Regions from separate parts of the Homo sapiens genome. Here all the other regions are linked to region 2. The links are contacts of gene promoters, found by promoter capture Hi-C in blood cells and fetal thymus (Javierre and others, 2016). All regions are on one chromosome and are shown on one strand. Each heading gives the region's core, a stretch centred on a gene start or on the middle of the fragment in contact. The rest is flanking DNA. Distances are from core to core; before and after follow the strand shown.

Evidence for each region. The method cuts DNA at HindIII sites, captures the fragments that hold promoters and counts their contacts. A CHiCAGO score of 5 or more calls a contact.
Region 1: a fragment that was not itself captured here is called in contact with the fragment with the promoter of H2AZ2 in region 2 in 17 of 17 cell types (total CD8 T cells, megakaryocytes, activated CD4 T cells and 14 more); the score reaches 22.4 in total CD8 T cells.
Region 3: a fragment that was not itself captured here is called in contact with the fragment with the promoter of H2AZ2 in region 2 in 2 of 17 cell types (total CD8 T cells and monocytes); the score reaches 8.0 in total CD8 T cells.
Region 4: a contact is called between a fragment that was not itself captured here and the fragment with the promoter of H2AZ2 in region 2, in 1 of 17 cell types (monocytes). The highest score is 5.4, in monocytes.

The regions. Positions count from the first base shown.
Region 1 is chr7:44,924,311-44,927,010 of GRCh38, forward strand. No RefSeq gene overlaps it. Among named protein-coding and RNA genes, the nearest start is that of PURB, 40 kb to the left of the region's middle. The HindIII fragment of the contact is 4,333 bases long and covers 1-2,700 here.
Region 2 is chr7:44,846,657-44,849,356 of GRCh38, forward strand. H2AZ2 (H2A.Z variant histone 2) reads right to left here and starts at 1,431. Exons shown (of 5, transcript NM_012412.5): 1 at 1,313-1,431. The coding sequence starts at 1,315. H2AZ2-DT (H2AZ2 divergent transcript) reads left to right here and starts at 1,815. Exons shown (of 2, transcript NR_187581.1): 1 at 1,815-1,865. RefSeq lists enhancers at 1,014-1,571, 1,572-2,130 and silencers at 1,057-1,446, 1,707-1,766. The HindIII fragment of the contact is 6,622 bases long and covers 1-2,700 here.
Region 3 is chr7:44,770,465-44,773,164 of GRCh38, forward strand. No RefSeq gene overlaps it. Among named protein-coding and RNA genes, the nearest start is that of ZMIZ2, 23 kb to the left of the region's middle. The HindIII fragment of the contact is 1,174 bases long and covers 737-1,910 here.
Region 4 is chr7:44,719,529-44,722,228 of GRCh38, forward strand. No RefSeq gene overlaps it. Among named protein-coding and RNA genes, the nearest start is that of ZMIZ2, 28 kb to the right of the region's middle. The HindIII fragment of the contact is 5,346 bases long and covers 1-2,700 here.

The DNA.
Region 1 (2,700 bases), core at 132-2,631, 78 kb after region 2:
TACAGGATAGCCCAGTGTTGACACAGGCCGTGTGCTGCTGCCTGCCAGGTACCAAGCTGAGAACTGTGGACACGGGAAAGGGGTTGAGGGATGCCGTATTGTCTAGGACTGGAGCTGGCACCTTGCTGGTCCCTTTATACACTGGTTATCTTAATTTTCACACACAAATGTTGTTATTCATGTGGTCTGGTGGAGGGAACTTAAGTGTATGGTCTTATAAACTGTAAAAGGGGTGGGGCGCTGTGGCTCATGCCTGTAGTCCCAGCACTTTGGGAGGCCGAGATGGGCGGATTACTTGAGGTCAGGAGTTTGAAACCAGCCTGGGCAACATGGTGAAACCCTGTCTCTACTAAAAATACAAAAAAATTAGCCGCACATGGTGGTGCATGCCTGTAATCCCAGCTACTTGGGAGGCTGAGGCAGGAGAATCACTTGAACCTGGGAGGCGGAGGTTGCAGTGAGCCGAGATCGCGCCATTGCATTCCAGCCTAGGCAGCAAGAGCGAAACTCCGTCTCAAAACAACAACAACAACAAAACAACAACAACAACAACAACAACAAAAACTGTAAGAGGATACCCAGATGGCCAACATGCCTGAAAAGGTGCTCAATCTCATCAGTGATCAGGCAGAAGCAAATAAAAACACAAGGCGGGGTGCAGTGGCTCACACCTGTAATCCCAGCACTTTGGGAGGCTGAGGCAGGAAGATCGCTTGAGCCCAGGAGTTCAAGACCAGCCTGGACTAAATAGTGAGACCCCATCTCTAAAAAATATTTAAAAATTAGCTGGACATGGGGGCACACACCTGTAGTTCCAGATACTTGGGAGGCTAAGGTGTGAGGATTGTTTGAGCCCAGAAGATGGAGGCTGCAGTGAGCCGTGATTGCACCCCTTGCACTCCAGCCTGGGTGACAGAGTGAGACCCTGTTTCAAACACACACACACACACACACACACACACACACACACACACACACACACACACACACTAAGATACCAGTACAGACCCATAGACCCATCAAATGAAAAAGACTGACAATACCAGGAGTAACATCCCCGCTGCTGATGGGAATCTAAATTGGTGCAGCCACTTTGCAAGTAGTTTGGCAGGATCTTTTTTTTTTTTTTTTGAAATGGAGTTTTGCTCTTGTAGCTCATGCTGGAGTGTAACGGCGCAATCTCGGCTCACTGCAGCCTCCGCCTCCCGACATCAAGCAATTCTCCTGCCTCAGCCTCCCGAGTAGCTGGGATTACAGGCGCCCACCACCATGCCTGGCTAATTTTTTATATTTTTAGTAGAGACGGGGGTTTCGCCATGTTGGCCAGGCTGGTCTTGAACTCCTGGCCTCAGGTGATCTGCCCGCCTCGGCCTCCCAAAGTGCTGGGATTACAGATGTGAGCCACTGCACTGGCCAGCAGGATCTTTAGTAGATAAATATCCACACATGCTAGGACCTCACCACTCCACCCAAAAGAAACAAACGCTTATGTGATGTGCAGTAGCATTTACCAGAGCCCTAGACTGGAAATAGCCAAATGTCCATCAACAGGAGAAAAATGAAATAAAATAATGATGAAAACAAAAATGAAATAATGAAAAAAATGAAATAAAATAATCATGCAATGGAATACTATACTATGAAAATAGGCCAACTACTGCCATACATAGCAGCTATGATGTTTGTACCTAAATGATGTGTTTTCCAAATTTTATCATTAATATCACGATGAATACCTTTAAACATGTCTTTCCAGAATACTTCTAGAGAATGACTACAAAGTAAATTGCTAAAGAGTAGCTGATGAATCAGGCTATGGGAATTCTTGATTTTTATAGATGTTGTTCGTTACCTTCAGAAAAAGACTAAATCAATTTATACTCACACCAGCCATGCCTCAGAGAGTCTGCTTTCCCACACACCTGCCAATACAGAAGGTATATGTGTTTAAAATATACTTTGAAAACAAGTAATATTCCTTCACAGTTTCACCTGGATCCTCATTTACTTATGTCGCCTGTTCTCAATCATCTTTAGTGTATTAGTTAGGAAAATGCCACCTGCTATGACTGACTCTAGAAGGAATACTACCTCATCAGAACAGGAGTCCTTTTTTGCTCCTACAAAGAAAAGGTAAGGTTTCTGATGATTAGCACTGGCAAGATTTGCTCCAAGTGATCATTCAAGAACCTAGATGGAAATATATCACTGATTTCTGTTTCTCCATCTATAAAATGAGAGTAAGGATACCATGCCCTACCTTGTAGGGATAGAGTGATTGTCAGCTAAGGTCACACATTTGAATGTCTTAGTAACAGAGTGCAGACTCACCCATTCCCAGCTTCTAGGGTGGTAGGAAAGGGCCCATTCTCCATAAGTGGAAGATCTATTTCAGAGCGAGAAAGAAAAAGGTGCTGAAGCAGTGTCAGAGCACGGCAAACTATCCTTCCTCCTCTTGTTACCAAGCGGTCAATGGGCTTGCAGTCCCATGTGCATACAAGCCAATATCAAGGCCTTGGCTTTTGAGAAAAGGAGTTGGAGGCTAGGTAGGGTTTTATTAGCGTAAAGTAATGAAGTGTGATCTGACTGGATCTTGCAGTGAGGTGATGCCAGAAGGCATGGTCTGACTGGATCCTGCCATGGAGTGATACCACAACTCCATCTGATTGGATCCTGAATCCTGCCACGTGGTGTCTGCCC
Region 2 (2,700 bases), core at 181-2,680:
AAAAAAAAAAAAACCACAAAAAACTAGAATCATGAAAATCATCTGTTTGAGCAAATCCTTTTACAGATTAGATGTAAGCTGTACCTCAGTTTGATAAAGTACTATAAAGTACTTTACAATAACAATAAACTATACGTGAGACGTTGGAAGCAATTATCCCTAAAGTCTATTCCAGCTCTAAGATTTGGGTTTTTTACAATAACAATAAACTATACGTTAGACGTTGGAAGCAATTATCCCTAAAGTCTATTCCAGCTCTAAGATTTGGGTATTTTACAATAACCAAACATTGTCCTCTCGACTGGCCAATCTGTTTACAGTTAGGTGTTATGTCTATTCAATACCATATCTGTCACATCAAGCACAAGACAAATCATCTAATACTATCTGCAGTATGATAAATGACAGCTTGGTGCTAACTTTTAAGCAGGTAGCTCCCGTTGAAGTAACCTTTCAACAGAATGCTTAAAGCACGAATACCGGCAAAAATAAGATTCCATAACAGTCTTATTATTTTTACACAATCTTTGATGCAACTCAGAGCGTATCCTTTAGCACCTTCTCTTTTCCCCTCAACTTTAAAATGGGGCTGAAGTTCTATTCACTTTCATTTTTTTAAAGCCACACTCTTCTTATCTAGATCTGAATTTCAGAATGAAAAGATGAATACTTTAAGACTGAAAATCCATAGCAAGGGCAAAGGAAAGTACTGTTGTATAATGAAAACCGCAAACTGCAAGGGGCTCAGAAGATAACGGGCGTTCATTTCTAACCTGTGCAATCACCTAGAACAAATCGTGTGGTTCTGGTCTATAAAACCATTCTTTGTCGCTCAAAAGACCACAAATACAAGCACCCTTTCGCAGAAACCCTCAAACTGACTGCCAGGGAGATTACGTAACCAAACATCGCCAAAGACTTATCTAACTTGTACAGCGGCAGCCTGTTTGACCTCATTCATACAGAGAAGCGATCACATTAAGATCCAGCACTTGTTTCTACATTTCCAAGCCGGATTCTGCCGTCCTCCTCCTTCTAAGACGGGCGGTGCAGCGTCACAAGCGTCGGGACAGATCTATCCGGCTCGGAACAGACTTCGCGCTCTACCCGGCCAGGCCCAGCTCTCACCCGGGGACCCGTGTCGGGCTCCGCAGCTGGGACATGGCGCCCCCCGGCGGGCGGCGAGGGGCTCGGCCGGACGAAGCCCAGACACCCGCAAACTCCCGACTCCACAGGTAGCGGCGCCGACGCCAGGGCCTCCGCGCTCTGCTCTCCCAGGCCCCGTGCCCCCGGCCCACCCGGCCGCCCTTACCATGTTCTCGGCGCCGACTCCGCCTCCGCTCGGCCGCGCGCCCTCCCGCTGCCGACCCGCGCCGCCGCCGCCGCTCTCGCAGCACCGACCGCCGCCGCCGGAGCCGGACAATACCCCGTGCCCGCCTCGCGCTGCTGTGGCCAATGCCCGCTTGTCTTGCTGGTTCGAACCCCAGCGGCTGTTCAATCGCGCGCCTCCTTCTAGCCAGACCCCGCCCCCCCGGCACCGCCTTCCTAACGGCTGTTTGTTTTTGCACACGGCACGCGGAGGCGGGGCCTCCAGCCCCAATAGTGACGCGCTCTCTGCCTTTCACCAGGCGCCCAAGCCTGACGAACAGAAAGGCAAACCAATGAGATTGGACGCCTCGCAGACGAAAGCCAATAAAAATATCGCCCGCGAGCAAGGGAGGCGGGCCACTGGGAAGGACAGCAAAATTAGCTAATAAGGTGAAGCGATTGCAGGCGCTGTGGCTTTCCCGCCCATTCGCGGCGTTGGTTTTCCCGCTTCTGAGACTTGTTTGGGGAGGTAAAGAGTGTTGGACGTGCTTCTCCTGGTGGGTTTTCACAGACTGTGAGGATTTATTCGTCTTAGAACGTGTGGATCAGGAGGGCGCTGGGTTTCAAGGTTAGGCAGGCCTCATGCTCAGCCGTATTCTGGCGGACTGACTACCCTGACGTCCTCTCAGCGCGGACCCTGACAAGGTCCGCGGCAGGCTGAGGCGGGAGAATCGCTTGAACCCCGGAGGCGGAGGTTGCAGTGAGCCGAGATCGCGCCACTGCACTCCAGCTGGGCGACGCATCGTCTCAAAACAAACAAACAAAAACAAAAGCTATCAATTGGCTACATATTGTTATTTGTATGACAAATTCTTTTTCCTTTTTTAGAGATGGAGTCCTGGGACTACAGGCGCGCGCCCCAATGCCCAGCTAACTTTTGTATTTTTAATAGAGACGGGGTTTCTCCGTGTTGGTCAGGCTGGTCTCGAACTCCTGACCTCAGGTGATCTGCCCCCCTTTGCCTCCCAAAGTACTGGGATTACAGGCGTGAGCCACCGCGCCCGGCATGTATTACAAATTCTAAGAACACGAAGATAATGGGGCCGGCTTGGTGGCGCGAACCTGTAGCCTCACCTACTGTCAAGACTGAGACAGGAGGATCTCTTGAGCCCAGGAGGTCGAGGCTGCAGTGAGTCATGATCGCACCACTGCACTCCAGCTTGGGAGACAGAATATACCCTGTCTAAAAAATAATAATAAAAAAAAAGGTAATGGATGAGGCCGATAGTCAGGAATGAAATGACTTTAAACAATTGGGTATGCATGGGATTGGGTATGTGTGTATGTGGGGGCAGAGGGTGGGCATAACCGAAGTCCCATACTCATGTCCCT
Region 3 (2,700 bases), core at 74-2,573, 76 kb before region 2:
TGCCAACATTTAAAAAGATGCGACATCTTGGCTGGGTGTGGTGGCTCACGCCTGTAATCGCGGCACTTTGGGAGGCCGAGGCAGGCAGATCACCTGAGGTCAGAAGTTCGAGACCAACCTGGCCAAAGTGGTGAAACCCTGTCTCTACTAAAAACACAAAAATTAGCCAGGCGTGGTGGCTCACACCTGTAATCCCAGCTATTCACGAGGCTGAGGCAGGAAAATCACTTGAACCCAGGAGGCAGAGGTTGCAGTGAGCTGAGATCATGCCATTGCACTCCAGCTTGGGTGACAGAGTGAGACTCTGTCTCAAAACAACAACAAAAAAATTCCTAGAAAGATACAAATGACCAAAATTGTCCCAGGAAAAATAGAAAATCTGAACAGGGCCAGGTGCAGTGGCTCACACCTGTGATCCCAGCACTTGGGGAGAACTAGTTAGGAGGATGGCCTGAGGCCAGGAGTTCGAGACCAGCCTGGGCAACAGAGACCCTGCCTCGACAAAATCTTTAGAAATCAACCAGGTGTCATGGCACGTGCCTGTAGCCCCAGCTACTTGGGAGGCTGAAGCAGGAGGATAGCTAGAGCCCAGGAGTTCAAAGCTGCAACGACCTATGACAGCACCACTGCACTCCAGCCAGGAATGAGGCAGAGACAGAGACCTGACCTCAAAAAAAGAAGAAAAAGGAAAAAATCTGAACCAACCTAAAACACATAGGTAGAACCAGTCATCAAAAGCTTCCCAACAAAAGAAAAGCCCAGGACCAGATGGTGAATTCTACCAAATGCTAAAGAATGGACATAAATCCCCAAATTCTCCCAAACATTGTGGAGGAGAAAACACTTCCTAATTCCCCGTATTCATGTGAGGGGCCAGCTTCCCTCCCATTCTGCCCCAGCTTCCTCCAGTGGCCTTCCCCAGCAGGCAGTGGCCCCCACTTCTGACCCCTGTAACTCTACCCACTGTGGGTTTCCTCCTTGCCACCCTTCCAGCCTTCCAGGCTTTGGGGGCCATTGAGACAGCCCATCCTGCCTGCCCTGAGTGGGAGGGCAAGACATGACTGGCTCAGGATGGCCTGTCACCCAAGTTGCCTCAAAGAAGCCAGGGACATCAGTGCAGTCGGATGCACAGTGCAGTAGGTTTTGGTAAGTGCACACGCGTGTGTACCTGCCCTTCCAAACCTCACAGGAGAGACCAACCCACACCCCACCCCAGGTCATCACTGTTCTGGCCCCTGTCACCAGAGATTAATTTTGCCCTTTCTGAAACTTTATGTCAGTGAATATTAGAGTCTGTGTCTTGTTGTTAACTGATCCTTAAAGCGTCTGTGTTTATTTTCTTTTTTTTTTTTTTTAAGACGGAGTCTTGCTCTGTCGCCCAGGCTGGAGTGCAGTGGCATGATCTCAGCTCACTGCAACTTCCGCCTCCCGGGTTCAAGTGATTCTCCTGCTCAGCCTCCTGAGCAGCTGGGATTACAGGTGGCGCGCCATCACGCCTGGCTAATTCTTGTAATTTTAGTAGAGATGGGGTTTCACCATGTTGGTTAGGCTGGTCTCGAACTCCTGACCTTGTGATCTGCCTGCCTCGGCCTCCCAAAGTGCTGGGATTATAGGCTTGAGCCACTGTGCCTTTTTATTTTCATTTAACTGTATATTGTTCTTGTTCATTCTCTCAGTTACCACTTAGAAGGGAGGATTAATGGGTACCCTTCCCCAGCATCCTATACCCCAGCTCTTCTCTGACCAAGTCTTGAACCCTGTCATGGTACATTAGCTAGGACTCAATAGGTTGCAAGTGACGGTGACCAATTCAAACCAGTTAAGGAAGGAAGGGGCTCAAAATAGCAGTCCTGAAAGGGCCCTGGGGCAGCTGGACATGGGTAGGCATCCTTCCTTGGCCTCTGTGTGCAAGCTTCACCCTCAACCAGCTGCTTCTGTGAACTTGAGATCCAAGCTTCGGAGCCTCACTTCTCATTGATTCACCCTAGAAAAGAGGTGATGATCACTCTCCTTCTGGTTCCAAGTTTAAAATCCCAGGGATGGGATCTGGTTGACTCAACCAGGTAGGGACCCACCCACACAGCTAGAGTGGGGTCAGGAGCACTGCCCGAAAGAAGGGAAGCAGTTATCACAAGAGGGAGTACAGAGGGCCTCCCATTGCCTTGGGATGAAGTCCTTGCCTGCTCCCAACAGTCTCCACATTACCTCGTTCCTGCCCGTCTACCTTCTGGGTCAGGCTTCAGCTAAGACGCCATTCCTGGGAGAACCCTCTGCCTCCAGGATAAGTCAGGGCCTCCTCCTGAAGCCTTGATTCACTCTGTGGAATGCCTTTCACAGTTCCCATCGTAGCTGATCAGTTAAACCGTGGTGTGATTGTTCTTCCCACTTTTTTTTTTTTATTTTTTAGAGATGGGGGGGTGTCACTCTGTCAGGTGGAGTGCAGTGGTGCAATCACAGCTCACTGCAGCGTTGACCTCCAGGGCATAAGCACTCCTCTCATCTCAGCCTCCCAGGTGGCTGGGGCCACAGGCTTACACCACCACGCCTGGCTAATTTTTTTTTTTTAAGCAGAGTCTCACTCTGTCCTCCAGGTGGGAGTGCAGTGACGCGATCTCGGCTCACTGCAACCTTCGCCTCCTGGATTCAAGCGAATCAGCCTCCTGAGTACTGGGATTACAGTACTCGGCCTCCTGAGTACTG
Region 4 (2,700 bases), core at 171-2,670, 130 kb before region 2:
GTAGCTGGGATTACAGGCACCTACCACCATGCCCAGCTAATTTTTTTGTTTTTTGGTTTTTGGGGTTTTTTTTGAGATGGAGTCTCACTCTGTCACCCAGGATGGAGTGCAGTGGTGTAATTTTGGCTCACTGTAACCTCCGTTTCCTGGGTTCAAGCAATTCTCCTGCCTCAGCCTCCTGAGTAGCTGGGATTACAGGGGTGTGCCACTGTGCCCAGCTAATTTTTGTATTTTTAGTAGAGACGGGGTTTCATCATGTTGTCCAGGTGGGTCTTGAACTCCTGACCTCGTGATCTGCCCGCCTTGGCCTCCCAAAGTGCTGGGATTACAGGCGTGAGCCACCACACCTGGCCATTTTTTTGTATTTTTAATAGAGACGGGGTTTCACCATCTTGGCCAGGCTAGTCTTGAACTCCTGACCTTGTGATCCACCCACCTCAGCCTCCCAAAGTGCTGGAATTACAGGTGTGAGCCACTGCACCTGGCCTAAAATAACCAGTTTCTCCAATCGTGTCCTGTTGCAAAAACAGACTCTTTTTTTGGGGGGGTGCGGGGACAGAGTTTTGCTCTTGTCACCAGGGTGGAGTGCAATGGCATGATCTCAGCTTACTGCAACCTCCGCCTCCCAGGTTCAAGCAATTCTGCCGCCTCAGCCTCCCGAGTAGCTGGGACAGCATACAGGTGCCCAGCACCATGCCTGACTCATTTTTGTATTTTTAGTGGAGACAAGGTTTCACCATGTTGCCCAGGGTGGTCTTGAACTCCTGACTTTGGGTGATCCACCTACCTCGGCTTCCCAAAGTCCCGGGATTACAGGCGTGAGGCACTGCGCCTGGCTAAAAACAGATTCTTATTGCACTTATGCCAATAACTACATCACCATAAGTTAAGAATACTCACAACTAGTTTCCAAATTCTGGAGAAACCAGGTAGAGAGAAACAAATATGCTCTAAATTTTGTTCACTTTACTCAATTGTTAAAAGCTGTAAATAGCTAAAAAGAAATTTTTTCTTAACTCTGAAAAACAAAGCAAAGGATTAGTAACATTTTAAGCAAATGTTAAAAAAGATTACTTCAGGCTTCTATTAGTTTATTACATGCAGTTAACTCCTGTTTGATATTCATGAACATTTCAGCTCTTCATGAGAGTCCTGAAAGTATTTTCCTCTACTCTAATGTCACAATCTCAAAAGTTATCAGAAACCTGCGTTTAAGAACATCTGTTAGAGTTCTATAGTTGATTATAAACCACCTTCTAAAGAGGACCAAAACAAGACAACAATTATTTATGGATGACAAAATGTCTTAGGACGGCCACAGTCAACAACACAATTGACAAAGAAATTTGGTTACCTCTGTGGAATACAATGACTTTATGTAACAATTATAATTATTAATAACATATACTAAGTCATATCTGAATTATGAGTTTCCCATTATTTTGGAACACATACCAAGAACATATTTATAAAAATACAGCCTCAAGAAAGCCAAATACCATTTCAATTTGACAATGTTTCCTGTATGATTTTTGTACCAAATAAGACAAACTTTCACCTTTACATTAGTGTATTATTAATGTTAAACCCAATTCTCAATAAAACCTTATAGACATATCTACCCAACGTCAATGTTTAACCATAAGGTAAGATTCTCATAAACCTTTTATAACCCTTTACAAATTTTTGTTAAAGAGCATATTATAAGCAGGTTTTTGCTTTAAGAAAAACATATTTTGCTTTTATTCCAATGTTTAATTTACAGAAAAACTGAATAATATCCCCTTAACTTTAGCCAATATATTCACGCACAGAATTTTTTTTTTTTTTAGACAGAGTCTCACTCTGTCATCCAGGCTAAAGTGCAGTGGCATGATCTTGGCTTACTACAACCTCCACCTCCTAGGTTCAAGTGATTCTCATGTCTCAGCCCCCTGAGTAGCTGGGATTACAGGCTCATAGCACCATGCCCAGCTAATGTTTTTTAATTTTTAGTAGAGACTGGGTTTTGCCATGTTGGCCAGGCTGGTCTTGAACTCCTGACCTCAAGTGATCCACCCGACTCAGCCTCCTCCCAAAATGCTGGGATTACAGGCGTGAGCCACCATGTCTGGCCCATACACTGAATTTTTTTAACAAGATTATTATTTTTTTCTGTTTTTTTTTTTTTTTTCCAAGATGGAGTCTCGCTCTGTTGCCCAGGCTGGAGTGCAGTGGCACAATCTTGGCTCACTGCAATCTCCACTTCCCAGGTTCAAGCAATTCTCCTGCCTCAGCCTCCTGTGTAGCTGGGACTACAGGCGTGTGCCACCATGCACAGCTAATTTTTTTTGTATTTTTAGTATAGATGGGGTTTCACCATGTTGTCCAGGCTGGTCTCGAACTCCCAACCTCAAGTGATCCACCTGCCTTTGCCTCCCAAAGTGGTGGGATTACGGGAGTGAGCCACCATGCCCAGTCTACAGGATTAATTTTTTACAAACCTTCCACAATTTGCTTAAACCTTCAGCTTTATTCCATCTAACTTAATACAATCATTTAACCCATTAATCTAGTCAAAAAAATGTACATTCCCATGACTTCTTATAATCTTTTACCAAAAACACATTTCACTTTTTTACACACCTTGCATGTAAAATTGTTTCTTCAGTAGTCTCAATTACATGTTACAGTGTTAACTCTTAGTGACTTTTACTTTTA